Linked DNA regions of Homo sapiens: region 2 is linked to region 1. Evidence: promoter capture Hi-C in human tissues and cell types (Jung and others, 2019). All regions are on one chromosome and are shown on one strand. Each heading gives the region's core, a stretch centred on a gene start or on the middle of the fragment in contact. The rest is flanking DNA. Distances are from core to core; before and after follow the strand shown.

Evidence for each region. Contacts are between HindIII fragments. The study calls those that stand out against the background at their distance.
Region 2: a contact is called between the fragment with the promoter of KRTCAP2 here and a fragment that was not itself captured in region 1, in 1 of the 25 tissues and cell types used here (lymphoblastoid cells).

The regions. Positions count from the first base shown.
Region 1 is chr1:155,634,734-155,642,419 of GRCh38, forward strand. It overlaps the pseudogene LOC100419798. Among named protein-coding and RNA genes, the nearest start is that of MSTO1, 28 kb to the left of the region's middle. RefSeq lists enhancers at 427-1,186, 1,187-1,947, 1,948-2,707. The HindIII fragment of the contact is 3,850 bases long and covers 1,462-5,311 here.
Region 2 is chr1:155,168,450-155,176,135 of GRCh38, forward strand. KRTCAP2 (keratinocyte associated protein 2) reads right to left here and starts at 4,855. Exons shown (of 5, transcript NM_173852.4): 1 at 4,772-4,855; 2 at 4,289-4,443; 3 at 4,116-4,179; 4 at 1,342-1,408; 5 at 959-1,111. The coding sequence starts at 4,775. The coding sequence ends at 991. TRIM46 (tripartite motif containing 46) reads left to right here and starts at 5,400. Exons shown (of 10, transcript NM_025058.5): 1 at 5,400-5,580; 2 at 6,937-7,198; 3 at 7,439-7,686. The coding sequence starts at 5,518. RefSeq lists enhancers at 4,235-4,514, 4,618-5,126, 4,705-4,804, 5,005-5,054, 5,127-5,635 and silencers at 5,385-5,474, 5,644-5,938. The HindIII fragment of the contact is 7,811 bases long and covers 1,373-7,686 here.

The DNA of each region.
Region 1 (7,686 bases), core at 2,137-4,636:
TTATCACCCTAGCTTCTTCCGAGCGCACAAGCTTACCGTAAGGCTGACTGTAGATGTACTCGGGATCTCTCGTCGACTTGTCCTCAATGACCACGCTCGAGCGTACCTTCACCCTAGAGAAAAGCCTCCACGTTGGGCACCAGATGTAGGGGTGGGTTGCCCCTACACACCTGTGGGTGTTTCTCGTAAGGTGGGACGAGAGATTTGGAAAAGAAAAAGACACAGAGACAAAGTATAGAGAAAGAAATAAGGGGACCCGGGGAACCAGCGTTCAGCATATGGAGGATCCCGCCAGCCTCTGAGTTCCCTTAGTATTTATTGATCATCTGTGGGTGTTTCTCAAAGAGGGGGATGTGTCAGGGTCACAAGACAATTGTGGGGAGAGGGTCAGCAGACAAACACGTGAACAAAGGTCTTGGCATCATAGACAATGTAAAGGATTAAGTGCTGTGCTTTTGGATATGCATACACATAAACATCTCAGTGCTTTACAAAGCAGTATTGCTGCCCGCAGGTCCCACCTCCAGCCCTAAGGCGGTTTTTCCCTATCTCAGTAGATGGAGCATACAATCGGGTTTTATACCGAGACATTCCATTGCCCAGGGACAGGCAGGAGACAGATGCCTTCCTCTTGTCTCAACTGCAAGAGGCATTCCTTCCTCTTATACTAATCCTCCTCAGCACAGACCCTTTACGGGTGTCGGGCTGGGGGACAGTCAGGTCTTTCCCTTCCCACGAGGCCATATTTCAGACTATCACATGGGGAGAAACCTTGGACAATACCTGGCTTTCCTAGGCAGAGGTCCCTGCGGCCTTCCGCAGTTTTTGTGTCCCTGGGTACTTGAGATTAGGGAGTGGTGATGACTCTTAAGGAGCATGCTGCCTTCAAGCATCTGTTTAACAAAGCACATCCTGCACCGCCCTTAATCCATTCAACCCTGAGTTGACACAGCACACGTTTCAGAGAGCACGGGGTTGGGGGTAAGGTCATAGATTAACAGAATCTCAAGGCAGAAGAATTTTTCTTAGCACATAACAAAATGGAGTCTCCCATGTCTACTTCTTTCTACACAGACACAGTAACAATCTGATCTCTCTTGCTTTTCCCCACACATCCCCTATGGTTCTAGTGTCCTTTACTTTCCAGGGTGCTCAATCACCCATGGAACCCTGCTTAATGAATTTAATTGTGCTTACCGACATAGCAGTTTTGCCTGAATTTGTTTCCTGTCCTTTTTTAGCCACAAAGAAAGAGGTCCTGGGCTGCTGGATTTTAGTGGCTCCTTAACAGCATGCCCACAATTGCCTTTGCATCTGCAAGTGGGTCTTAGGTTTGGGGTGTATTTTGAGTTTAGAGACCAGGCACCAGTTAGCATATTTCTGGGCTTGGAGCTGTCCCAGCAAGATAAATTCCTTGAAAATGGCACTATAGCACAACAGTTTTAGGGAAGGCAGCGGCAAATTGGAGGACCAAAGTTGGAACTGTGCTTTTCATACCTGAATCTTCTGTCCCCTATTTGCCCTCCTAAGAATATTCATTGACCTTTGGACTTGAATCAGGGGACCTATTGTCTATTATATTGTTTTTGGCCCATAAGTATGACCACTTCAAGTGGAGAAGTTCTACAGTTCTAATCGCTGATTCCAGACAGGAAAGGTGGTAATTAAAGGAGTCTCTACAATCTGGAGTAAGTTTAGGGCAACAAAAGGAAAAATGTCTTAGGCCTTCTATCAGCCACTGACATGCCTTTTGATGTTCCAGATAGTACCTAGGGTACAGGTTATGAGGGACAGGTCCCGTGTAAGTATACTGATACCCATTTGCATAAGAATAAGCCTGGGGACACCATGGGCAAAGGTCTTTGGATTACCTCCCCACTTGACTTAGGCTCCTAGCCAAAAGATTCTTAGACTTGATCTAGGAAAGATCCTAGAGGATAGGACCTCAAGAAAGTCTTCTCTGAGGACGTTAGGACCCAGGAGGCATGGGTCAGAAAAGACATGAAATGCACGCATGGGCAGCTGCAGTGTAGAGGCTTCTCGCTGTGCCATGATCTCAACTGGGTCAGTGCTGGGAGTTCAGGACGACAGTTTTCCGCCTCTAGCCAGCCCTCAGCTTTTCCCAGGAAAGGTAGAGAAAGGTGGACCTGGTTCCAGGCAAACCAACACTCCCAGCCCAGAGGGCCGGGGGTTGTTAGAGAGCCCTTTCCCAGAGAGCCTCACACCTGTGTCTTAAGCCTGGCGGCTGCGCTTGTCACTTTTTTTTTTTTTTTTGAGATGGAGTCTTGCTCTGTTGCCCAGGCTGGAGTGCAGTGGTGCAATCTCAGCTCACTGCAAGCTCTGCCTCCTGGGTTCCCGCCAATCTCCTGCCTCAGCTTCCCGAGTACCTGGGACTACAGGTGCCCACCACCATGCCTGGCTAATATTTTTTGTATTTTTAGTAGAGGTGGGGTTTCACTGTGTTAGCCAGGATGATCTCAATCTCCTGACCTCGTGATCCACCCGCCTTGGCCTCCCAAAGTGCTGCAGTTACAGGTGTGAGCCACTGCACCCGGCCGCTTGTCACATTTAAATGGCTGACAGGTGCCTGGTGTTTTCTTCCAATTTCTAATGAGAAGATAGAACAGAATAGCAAGCAAGAGGGGTTCAATGTTACTCACTGCTTTGGAGAAATCCTGAATGTGTCCCCAGAAATGAGACGAGAAGTCTTCTCCTGATCAAAGGTCTTTTCTTGATTGAAGGGTTCGTGGTTTCACAGGCTTCAAGGAAAGAAGCCATGGACCTCAGTGGTGAGTGTTACAGCTCCATTAGAGAAACATGCAGACCCAAAGAGTGTGCGGTGGCAAGATTTATTAAAGCAAAAGTGAAAGTAAAGTGAAAGCGAAAGTAAAGCTTCCATATGGTGGAAGGGAACCCAGAAGGGTTGCCCAATCCTTTTTTTTTTTGAGATGGAGTCTCGCTGTGTCGCCCAGGCTGGAGTGCAGTGGCGCAATCTCGGCTCACTGCAAGCTGCGCCTCCTGGGTTCACGCCATTCTCCAGCCTCAGCCTCCCGAGTAGCTGGGATTACAGGCGCCTGCCACCACGCCCGGCTAATTTTTTGTATTTTTAGTAGAGATGGGGTCTCACTGTGTTAACCAGGATGGTCTCGATCTCCTGACCTCGTGATCCACCCGCCTTGGCCTTCCAAAGTGCTGGGATTACAGGCATGAGCCACTGCACCCGGCCAAGGGTTGCCCAATTCTATTCAATCTTAATCAGTTTGACCATGAGGTGAGATTTTTATGAACCTTTCATAACCGTTTACAAATCTTGCTAAAGAGGAGTAGCATCTTAAGAAAACCTTGTTGTGCTTTTCTTTTTTTCTTTTTTTTTTTTTTTTGAGATGGAGTTTCACTCTTGCTGCCCAGGCTGGAGTGCAATGGCGTGATCTAGGCTGACCACAACCTCTGCCTCCAGGGTTAAAGCGATTCTCCTGCCTCAGCCTCCCAAGTAGCTGGGATTACAGGCATGTGCAATGACGCCCAGCTAATTTTTTGTATTTTTAGTAGAGATGGGGTTTCTCCATGTTGGTCAGGCTGCTCTTGAACTCCCAACCTCAGGTGATCCACCCTCCTTGACCTCCCAAAGTGCTGGGATTACAGGCGTGAGCCACCATGCCTGGCCATGTGCTTTTATTTCAGTGCTCCATTTTCAGAAAAACCCTTTTGAATTTAGTCAATATGTTCACAGTTTCCTTTTGGAAGATTAATTTTTACAGTCTTTCCACATTTGCTTAAACTTTTTGTTTTATTTTATCTAATTTAAGACAATCCTGTATCCCTAGGCAAAATGTGCATTTCCATGCCTTCTTATAATCTTTGACTAAAAAGATACTTTACTGTTCTTGCACACCTTGCATGTAAATCTATTTTCAGTAGTCTAAATTACATGTTATAACAGTAACTCTTAGCAATTTTCAACTTCAATGTAAAACCTGGTAAAGTTGTTTTAATTATGTGCTAGGTGCAGATAAAGTCTGACTCCTTCCAGCATAGTTAGGGGAATGGTTACTTCCATATGTCCCCAGGTCTTACCAATTGTGAAGCAGGCAAGTTTAAAGGCCAAAGAAGAAGTTTACAACCTTAAAACATTCAGCAAACCTAGTATCTGACCTGCATAATTTAGACCATATATTTACATCTTGAAGACATCTACACTTTACCAATAATTTTTAAGGCTGTTTTTATTTTTCAAAAATTAAAGTCACATGAACTGAAAGGTACCACAACCTTCATTATCCCTTTAAAAAATATTTAATCCAAGCACTTACCCTTCAAGTCAATTAATTAGAGGTCTTTTTTAACAGACATCACACACATAACCCATATAGGACTATATAGATAGAAGAAGATCCAGCAGCTCAGGATGGAGCTATTTAGGAATAGGGCCAGAAAAGCATGTAGTTTTTGGAGCCTAATAAACATGCACAGTTGGAAGACAAAAACAGATTTTAAAAGGGATTCCAGGGATTCCATGTGGAAAACAGATTTTTTTCCTAAATGGGATTTCTGGCATCTTGTCTGTTTTCCCAAGGAGTCCCAGGCCACCAGAAGTCATCCTAGGGCCTTTCATCCATGCACCAAGAATGGCAAGACAGAGTGGGAAAAAGTAATTCAGTTGCCAGAGAAAAAAAGCCTTTTCCAGAAAAACAAGATTTATGGAGGGAAAAACATAAAGGCCTCTTGAATATACCTATAGGTTGGATACTCAGTTTCAATTAAGCCAAGTGCTCTTCATGAAAATTGTTTTTCATTAATCAAAACTTTACAGAGAATATAAACAGTGATCCTTATCATTTCTTTTACTGGTTTGTACCACTACCTGTTCACAATCATGTTCAGGTTCCCCAATTTCCTCTGGGAGAAAGTGGCTGGGTTTAGGCAAGGGCAGGTTTTCAACTGGACTGCAGATTCCTCTAGCAGCAAAGCTTGATTTTTGATGAGGCGATTTTTCTGTTAGCCAGAGACTTCCCTTAGAGGACAGCAGTCCTGCTATACTGTGTGGGGTGCAAACAGTTAAGTTATTCCCCATGTTTAACCCAGTGGTTTCTGCCACCAGCAAAGCCACTGCTGCAACTGCTTGGAGGCAGGCTGGCCATCCTTTAGCCACGAGGCGAAGTTCCTTGCTTAGGTAACCTACTGGCTGTTGAGTTGGACCTTTAGCCTTAGTTAAAACTCCCAGGGCCAGCCAGGCATGGTGGCTCACTCCTGTAATCCCAGCACTTTGGAAGGCCAAAGCGGGTGGATCACAAGGTCAGGAGATCGAGACCATCCTGGCTAACACAGTGAAACCCCGTCTCTACTAAAAATACAAAAAATTAGCTGGGCATGGTGGCGGGTGCCTGTTGTCCTGGCTACTCGGGAGGCTGAGGCAGGAGAATGGCGTGAACCCAGGAGGTGGAGCTTGCATTGAGCCGAGATCGTGCCACTGCACTCCAGCCTGGACGACAGAGCGAGACTATGTCTCAAAAAAAAAAAAAAAAAAAAAAAAAAGACACACACACAAAAAAACAAAAACAAAAAAACTCCCAGGGCCATTCCCTTCCTTTGTGATACATAGAAACTAAATGCCCTCCCTATGGGAAGACTGAGGGATGGATGGTGTATTAAATAAAGCTTGCTTTAACTGGTTAAAGGCTTTTGAGTTTTAGGTTCCCAAGTTAGGGAGTGAGTTTTAGCTGCTTGAGTTTCTTTTGTGAGGTGGTATAAAGGGCAAGCTATTTCACCATACCCAGGCACTCACAGTCTGCAAAATCCAGTAATGCCTAAGAATACCCTTAACTGTTAAAGGAAATGGGCTTAATCCTTTCCTTACCTGGTGCTCTGTTCCCTTCTGATAAGACCAGACCCAGATACTTTACTGAAGTTTGACAAAGCTGAGCTTTAGATTTTGAGACCCTATATTCCCTTTCAGCTATGAAATTGAAGAGAGCCTTAGTACCTTCCTGAGACCTCCTTGGTTGGGGCACAGAGGAGAGTGTCTTTACATACTACAAAGTTTCAACTTGAGGGTGACAAAAACTAGAATGATCTTTGGACAGGGCCTGTTTCAGCAACTTGCGTCTGCTATCAGGTGCTGCCTGAGTAATGAACCTGTTCTTTATTGAATTGAGAGACAGGGAGGTGTGTTTCACTAAAGCTTTTTTCAGCCTTTCCAAAAAGGCTGAGAGATTTTCATTTGGTTTCTGATTCAACAAGGACAGTTTACAGTAATTAAGAGTTTTGGTTCTGATTCTTTGCAAGCCTTTTAATATGCACATCAGAAAGTGTTTTCTTTTCCACTTGTCTATGGGATCACCAGGACTCCAATTAGAGGTTTTTTTCTTTTTCGGAGTTTTGCTCTTGTTACCCAGGCTGGAGTGCAATGGCCCAATCTCGGCTCACCGCAACCTCCATCTTCTGGGTTCAAGTGATTCTCCTGCCTCAGCCTCCCGAGTAGCTGGGATTACAGGCATGCGCCACCATGCCCAGCTAATTTTGTATTTTTAGTAGAGACGGGGTCTCTCCATGTTGGTCAGGCTGGTCTCAAACTCTCAACTTCAGGCGATCCACCCGCCTCGGCCTCCCAAAGTGCTGAAATTACAGGTGTGAGCCACCACGCCCAGCCCCAATTAGGGTTTTTAAGGGGCATAGTTTCTCTTCCTGTTGGGAAAGGGGATTCTGTCTCTTTTTTACCATGTTTCCCCTTTTGACTGGGTTTTTCTTTTGACTGGTTATAGGAGACATGCTGTTCATCTCTGAATATCCCTGCTGTCTGTAGGGCTTCTTGTTTCTCTGCAACAGTTAGGGTTTGGCATAAAAGTAGCATAGCATCTCCCCATGTAAGATCAAACACTTGGATTAGATTTTAGAAAGCCTCTATATATCTATGAAGGTCATCAGAGAACTTGCCTAGCTATCCCTTTATTTGTCTAAGGTCCTGCAATGAGAAGGGAACTTGAAACCTAGTAGCACCATGTCCATTCAGCATTTCCTGCAAAGGCAACAGCGAAGTTGGCAGCTTTTTGGGTAGCATAGCTGGAGGGGCTGATGATATGGCTATTGGGGGCCCTGGATACAGGAGGCAGTTAGGGCACTGAGAAGTTGCATTAGAGGGTTCCTCAAGGGTTTGCCTCTCTGACTTTGGGGAATTATATTCTGTAGACTTGCCTGATATGACTGCCAAGAGGGAAGGGTTAATTTTACAACACTTACAAAGATGGGGGTTGTCTCACTGGGAAAAATAAGATCTAGTTGTTGGATAGTATTGAAATTAATGCTTCCCTGAGGAGGTTAGACCTCCTGTCTGTAAGAGGGCCTTGCCCTTGTGCAATAGAATATAAGCTGTTTTTTCTTCAGAGTCTCACAATCAAAGGAGTTCCAGTGTTTCAGAATGCACTTGAGGAGAGTGCAGACTTCAGATGGTTTGTTATCGGGGGAACCCACCGCCAATATTTCAACGTAGGTTCTTTCTATTTTCCATAAGTGTCAGCCAGCTGAGAAATAAAGAGAAAGAGTACAAACAGAGGAATTTTACAGCTGGGCCTCTGGGGGTGACATAACATTTCTGTAGGACAGCGATGTCCACCTGAGCGCAAAAACCAGCAGGTTTTTATTAAGGACTTCAAAAGGGGAGGGGGTGTACAAACAGGGAGTAGATCACAAAGA
Region 2 (7,686 bases), core at 3,605-6,104, 460 kb before region 1:
ATGGGGTTCCCCATGTTGGCCAGGCTAGTCTCAAACTCCTGACCTCAAGTGATCCACCCACCTCAGCCTCCCAAAGTGCTGGGATTACTGGCTTGAGCCACCATGGCTGGCCCAACCCACCAGTCTTTATTGTCCATTATCAGGCTCTGGAAAAAACAAAGCTGACCAAGATGAGGTGTATACCCTAAAACACACGCCATTCAGCACGAGGGACGGCACCTAGGACGGGCACTCTGCATAGAGTTGTTCCTCATGACAGAGCACAGACAGGGCAGGGTGCAAGTAGCCACCTGCATTTCCATCAAGGTGGGCTCAGAGGTTGGTGTCCTTGCTCCTATTGTTTTATATACTTCGCTACAATTTAGGAAGTTCCCATTGTCTTGGCTACAAGATGGGGAAAAAATGAAAGCACCAGAACAAACAGGCTAGGAGCAGTTGATCACCTGGGGAGTCTTTCTAAACACAGCCATATGTTCATGCTGAAGTAGAACAGATAGGTCCCAGGGACAGCATCAGGAGAGAAGTCCCACCTATGCACTTGCAGCAGGGGGCTGATTTGCTTAAGGCAGGGAGCTGGAGTGGCAAAGATACCACGTGGAACCCCGTGAAACAGTGTAGGTATACGGGACCTTTCCTTCCTTTACTCTTTTGCTCCAAGATCCCTTCTGGTACTGACGGACAGGACTTCCTGCATTGCAGCCTTTACCCCTTTCCCCAAAGAACACGACTGCAGAACATTCATGTACTTTTCTTCCATGATGAGACTCACACAAGTATATGCCACTCCAGTGGCACTGACAGTATTCAACAGATAACTGGTAAAAATTAATGTGGGAGGAAGGAAAGCCTCACTATTCCCAAGGTCTGAAAACAGAAGGTGCCCAAATGTCTTAACATTCTGTACATCTAAGCTGGATACTGGTAGATGACACCCACAACATATCACAACTCACAGAGCTACAAAGAATCAACTTTATTGAACATTCAGGGTCAGTTTCTCTTCTTGCTCTTGCCTGTGACCTTGGCTGGTGTGAGGACTGGAGCTGCTGCCTGGTACAGGGTGGAGGAGATCTTGTTGATGTAGTACAGACCAACCATGGAGAAGATGAAGCTATATGGTGAAGACAGAAAGGTCATGGCACCAGTGGGCATCTGCCAGCCTGGTGCCTCCTAGGGAAGACACTAGCATCAAGGAAAGAATCCAAGTTCAAGTTTAGGAAAACGGGGAGGGAGAACAGAGAGAGAGGTAGGTGTGGAAGGAAAAACTCTGGCACCATCACAGTAAGATCCAATGCCAAAAAACGGAATGCTACACCCCTTACCCAGCTGTCAAGAACATACCAGGTGGTGACACAGACTCGGTGGATGAGGCCAGATGCAAAGAGAGCCAACAGGAGGCACAGGAGAACTAGGGAGGCAAGAAGAACAAGGAGGGCAACGGTCAGAATGGAAATACTAGGCATCTGCACATGGAGTCCAGGAGAAATCCGGGGCTCTCTGAATCCTGGGGAACCTGCTTAGAAGGGTAAGCGTGACTACAGCAGGAGGATTCTGATTACCTTAATGATACCCAGAACATGGAGGTAGGAGGTTGAGTGTGGTGGCTTGCACCTGGAATCCCAGCACTTCGGGAGGCTGAGGTGGGCAGATCACTTGAGCCCAGGAGTTTGAGACCAGCCTGAACAACAAAGTGAGACCCATCTCTTAAAAAAAAAAAAAATTGAATTAAAAAAAATTTAGCCAGGTAGTACAGTGGTACACATGCCTGTAGTCCCAGCTATTCAGGAGGCTGAAGTTGGAGGAACCCTTGAGCCAGGAAGTTCAAAGTTGCAGTGAACTGTGATCGCACCACTGCACTCCAGCCTGGGCAACAGAGTGAGACCCCGTCTCCAAAAAAAAAAAAAAAAAAAAAGAACATGGATGTAGATGTATGCTTTTTTTTACCAGCTCTGCCCCATATCTCACATAACTTCCCTACCCTGGCTTTCCTCCCATAAAAGGAAAAAGGAAAGGTGATGGACAACAGAGTCTGAAGGGCAAGGTGTGTTCCCATTTGGGGAACCCAGTTAAACCCTTTCCAAAAGAAGCCAGACAATGAGAGTCAATTCATTAAGCTGGGTGACCAGTGGTGGAAGTTGAAGGCCTTGCTCCCTGGACACAGGTTGGAGGGCAGAGTGCTTGGATCTACTTCTTCATGGGGGCAGGAAAGGATTTTAGGTTACCTGGAATATGATGGGAGAGAAGGTGAGAGGACAAAAGCAAAGACAAACAGGGCCCCACCTGCCCAGGTGGAGAGGGCAGAGAAGGCAAAGTGGGCCAAGAACTTTGCCCCACCACAATGGCATCTTTTCTTTTTTTATTATTTTTTTTTATTTTTGAGGCAGAATCTCACTCTGTCGCCCAGGCTGGAGTGCAGTGGTGCAGTTTCAGCTCACTGCAGCCTTGATCTCCTGGGCTCAAGCGATCATCCCACCTCAGCTTCCCGAGTACCTGGGACTATAGGTGCGTACCACCATGCCCGGCTAATTTTTGTATTTTTTTGGAGAGACAGGGTCTCTCTATGTTGCCCAAGCTGGTCTTGAATTCCTGGGCCCAAGCTATCTGCCAGCCTACACCTCCCAAAGTGCTAGGATTACAGGCGTGTGCCATCCCACCCAGCCAATGGTTTCTTTCAGAAGCAACTGAAAAGCCAGGCACAGTGGCTCACCCCTGTAATCCCAGCACTCTGGGAGGCCAAGACGGGTGGATCACTTAAGGTCAGGAGTTCAAGACCAGCCTAACCAACATGGTGAAATCCTATCTCTACCAAAAATACAAAAATTAGCCAGTTATGGTGGCGCACGCATGTAATCCCAGCTACTCGGGAGGCTGAGGCAGGAGAATCGCTTGAACCTGGGAGGCAGAGGCTCCAGTGAGCTGGGTTCACACCACTGTACTCCAGCATGGGTGACAGAGCGAGACTCCATCTCAAAAAAAAAAAAAAAAAGAAGCAAGTGAAGGTAATACATATGGAAACAAAACCTAACAGAGAGAAGTCCCGGGGCTACTGGATGGAAAGAACTCTGAAGCCTGCAAAAGGGCTATGCGGAGAAAGCAAGTCCTAGAGGGGGGCAAAGAAATGAGGGCAGCCAGGCACAGTGGCTCACACCTGTAATTCCAGCACTCTGGGAGGCTGAAATAGGAGGATCACTTGAGCCCAGGAGTTCGAGACCAGCCTGGGCAATGTGGTGAAACCCCATCTCTACAAAAACTTAAAACAGTAGCTGGGTGTGGTGGCACTCACTGGTAGTCCCAGCTACTGGTAAGACTGAGGAGGGAAGATTGCTTGAGACCAGGTCAAGGCTTCAGTGATCACATCCCTGCACTCCAGCCTAGGCGACAGAGTAAAGCCTTGTCTCAAAAAAAAAAAAAAAAAAAAAAGAGAAAAGATTAAGGGCAACCATGATAGATCTTTGTTTTACCACATGAGGGTTTTACATGAGATTGCATCTGCTGTGAATTTCTGAGCACGTGGCATTCCTTAAGTAATCTGGCCTTGACACTTAATTTGCTTTATAAACTTAATTCTCCATAAATAACTGAATCATCAATTCTTGATTACATGAGCAATTGAACAAGAATTATTCCAAACAGGAAATAATCTAACAGTTATTCTGATTTGGTCAGGATTCCTGCTGCCATAGATATTTGGTGCCTCTAGTATTTAGGCTCTTCACAATTCCCTCAAATAAGTAGAATTCTCTAATATTGAGTTAACTTCACATCAGAACTCCATAGTGAACTTGGTCCTGCTGCTTCTTCTGGTGGGAACAAGGACCGCCTCCCAGCGAATAGATGCAAAACATCAGCCCAAATTTGCCTGTTCCCCTCAAACCTTCCCTGGGAGCTGGCCAGAAGGTACCAAAGTTTCTTGCTTTCAAAGGCCTTCTCTTCCAGCTCCAACTCCAGGAGCTATACAAGGTGCAGAATCGAAAAGCGTCATCTGTCTTCAGACAGCTTCAGTAAATATATTTCTCCTTAACAACCTTTCACCTAAGCATCTGGAAATTCAATATCATGTTTCAGGAGGTTAAAGAGGAGAAAGTTCAAATACTCAAGCTCCAATATTCACTTACTCTCAGGGAAGATCTTTGCTTGGAATCCTTTGCCAAAGACAAGATTCTCCAGATTATTGAAGGCCTGGTTGAGGGAGTTAAGGAGTAGGGTGTGCAACGGGGACAGAGCTGTGTGGGGAAGGGGAAGGGCACATGCCTACGTGGCCCGCCCCCTCCAACTGCAGGGAGGATACAGTGAGCGAGAACACGAAGAGACCCGAACCAAGCAGGCCGCCCTGGATGGTGAGCCACTCGGTGGAGGCCAGCTGACGGCTGTACATCTGCATCCCAGCAAAGAGCAGCAGGGACAGGAGGGAGGAGAGCGCCAGCGAGGTGCCCGTACCCACCACTGGAGGGGATGGGAGAAGGGACGGAGAGTCAGGCTCCGCCCTCCCTCCGGCAAGCTACGGGCAGATCAGCCGGTCCGGAAGCTCGGTGGGCCGACCCCCTCCAAGAACTCCCGGGACTGCAGCCACACGCCCCAACTCCCCACACCGCGCGGCAACCCCTACGTATTCCCCAGCCCCGGACACCCCGAACCCTCCCGTCCGGTGGAAATGCCCGCTCCCGGTGGAACCCAGGACACGTCAGCTCTGTCGGGAGAGGACGAGGAAAGCTTGTCCACCCAAACCCCGACCCCCTCTAGGACTTCCTGGGGACCCCACCGGTCCTGTTACCCATCATGCCCCGCCCGTGAGTCCAACCGGCGCCTCTGGCCAAGAAAGGCGAGCTGAACCGGGTGCGGTTAGCTATGCGCATGCGTCAGCGCTTACCGCGGACTTGCTACTCCTCGCGTTCTCCTCTTTCTTCCTCTCAGTGCCTGGACGCAGCGCCCTCTTGCGACAGGGAGGAAATAATGCGTCGAGGGGGCATCCTCGGCCACCGCCCTGGTCCTCAGGCTTTCCTCGTACCTGGTGCGTCTGCTGCCACTCTGTACAAGGTGCACTTATCTCTTTAAGTCATTGGGCCCATGCCTGTGGCATCTATCCCATCTCTGTCTTCTTTGCCATTTCTTTCATCTCTAGTGCACGTTCCTCAAACCTCCCTGCCCCATGCCTCAACATCTCCCAACCTAAAATTTAGTGCTCCCAACCAGGAACTCATTTTCCTCCGAAACTAATCCCCCGCTTTATATGAGTAAAATTAGGAGCCAATGAAAAATGAGAATGTAAGAAATGGCTCCCCCGTCAAATACCTTTCCATATTCCCCAACCCCCCGACCGGCTTTCGAGAACCACGTGGGGAGAACTATTTCCCACCCCCTACCCCGACGGGCGCTGTTCGAGGCTGGTCCCGGGAGCATGCGCAGTGACACCTCAACCCCCAGCCCTCCTCACACCCCCACTGGGCTCCTGCATTAAGCCCGGGGTTCGCAGCCGCAGCCGGGATCGGGCACCCAGGGGCGGGCGGGCACGGTAGGGCCATGGCAGAGGGTGAGGATATGCAGACCTTCACTTCCATCATGGACGCACTGGTCCGCATCAGTGTGAGTTAAGGTGGGGTCGAGGGAAGGGGAGGGGGCGTATAGGGTTCTGGGGCAAGCTGGGACCTGGAACAGGTGGGGATCCAGGAAGATGCTGGGATGTAGACAGGGGGCTAGCGATGGCAGAAACGGCTGGGAGGGTCGGGATGCAGGTATGAGAGGGTAATCCCGGGAGCAGCCCGGAGGTGAGTGCCGTGAAGGCGTCGGTGTGCTGGAGCGTGAGGAGGAGCTAGGAGCAGCCCAGACGCAGCGGGTGGGCTGGGGTGGCCTCCAGCAGTGCACCGGGGCTGGGGCTTCAGGGGAAAGGCCCTGTTATGAGAAGAGGGACGTGTGAGCTTGGATATTTTCCAAGAAAACTGAGGACAGGTGGGGGATGATGTAGGAGCCGCCCCACAGTGCAGTTCCCAATTTGGACCCCTCCCCAAGACCCCACCCCACGCACCCCCACTCAGGGCTGCTTCCGAGCCTGCGGTTGTCATGGCAACCCGTGCCTGGCTCTCCCAGGGGCGGTGCCAACCGTGTTCCCCCCCACCACTTCCTCCCCCCCTCCTTGTTCCTCCCTCCTTTGTGTCAGCTGCGCCCCTGACCGGGATGGCTGCGAAGAGAGGGACCAAGGTGAGGTGTGGGGGTGGGGCATAGCCTGAGGACCCCCACTCTCGCCACCAAGAGGGGGAGGGGACTTCCGGTGGGGAGGGGGCGAGTAGGCGGGGCTCTTGATTCCCCCGCTAGTTCGGAGAAGGGGGTGCCGCTGACCGGGTTGCGCTGCGGGAGAGGGCGGGAGGGCCTGATGGGGGCGAAGGGGAATGGGTTGGTAAGACCGATGGGGAAGTGAAGGATGGGGAATGGAGGCTGGAGTGGCCGCAGGCCGGAGCTGCGGCAGGAGGACGTATGGAGCGAGCAGGATGGAGTGCCAACCTCGCCTGGCTATCGGGAGGAATCACGGCATGGGGGTGCTGCTAGAGAAGGGAGTGGGGGTCTGCATGGAGCTGCAGAATGGGCGGTGTCCTTGAGAAAAATGCCAGGGGCAAGCTGCCCAGAGATGGGGGATGGAGGCAGGTGAGGGGGCTGCCAGCTGGGGCTACTGCAGCTGGAGAAATGGGGATTGGGCTTGAGGCTGGAGCAGGCACAAGCTCCAACCGTCCCTCCTCTGGGCCTTTAGCTCTGCAGCGGGGAAAGAGAAGCAAGGGACAGAGGTCTGGGAAGGTCTGTGAACCAGCCCAAGGCAGGTGCTCTGGAAAAGCTGCAGGTAGCTTGTCTTGCTCCTTCCTCAGACCCCTAGGGTATCCAAGGGCAGCCAAGGGGCTGCTGAGGTATGCCTAAGTGTCCAAGCGCTGACCTAGCCTCCTGGTCCCTCCACAGACCAGCATGAAGAACATGGAGAAGGAACTGCTGTGCCCAGTGTGTCAAGAGATGTACAAGCAGCCACTGGTGCTGCCCTGTACCCACAACGTGTGCCAGGCCTGTGCCCGAGAGGTCTTGGGCCAGCAGGGCTACATAGGACATGGTGGGGACCCCAGCTCCGAGCCCACCTCTCCTGCCTCCACCCCTTCCACCCGCAGCCCCCGCCTCTCCCGCAGAACTCTCCCCAAGCCAGACCGCCTGGACCGGCTGCTTAAGTCAGGTGGGACTGGGGCCTGTAGGGTGGGGATGGGAACGCTGAGCTATTCATCAGGAAGATGGAAGAAGTCCATCACTGGTCAGAGGCATCTGTCTGTCTTTCTGGGGGGTGGAGATACTGCTTACGCAGGCTCTAATGAGAGCTGAGCTCTGGCACAATGAAAATCTAATTTAATTAAACAGGCTTCCCCACACCCAGCCAGCTGTAACTCTCATGTCCTCTACCTCCCTGGTTCACCCACAGGCTTTGGGACATACCCTGGGAGGAAGCGAGGTGCTTTGCACCCCCAAGTGATCATGTTCCCGTGCCCAGCCTGCCAAGGTGATGTGGAGCTTGGGGAGCGGGGTCTGGCAGGGCTTTTCCGGAACCTGACCCTGGAGCGTGTGGTGGAGCGGTACCGCCAGAGTGTGAGTGTGGGAGGTGCCATCCTGTGCCAGTTGTGCAAGCCCCCACCACTAGAGGCCACCAAGGGCTGCACAGAGTGCCGCGCC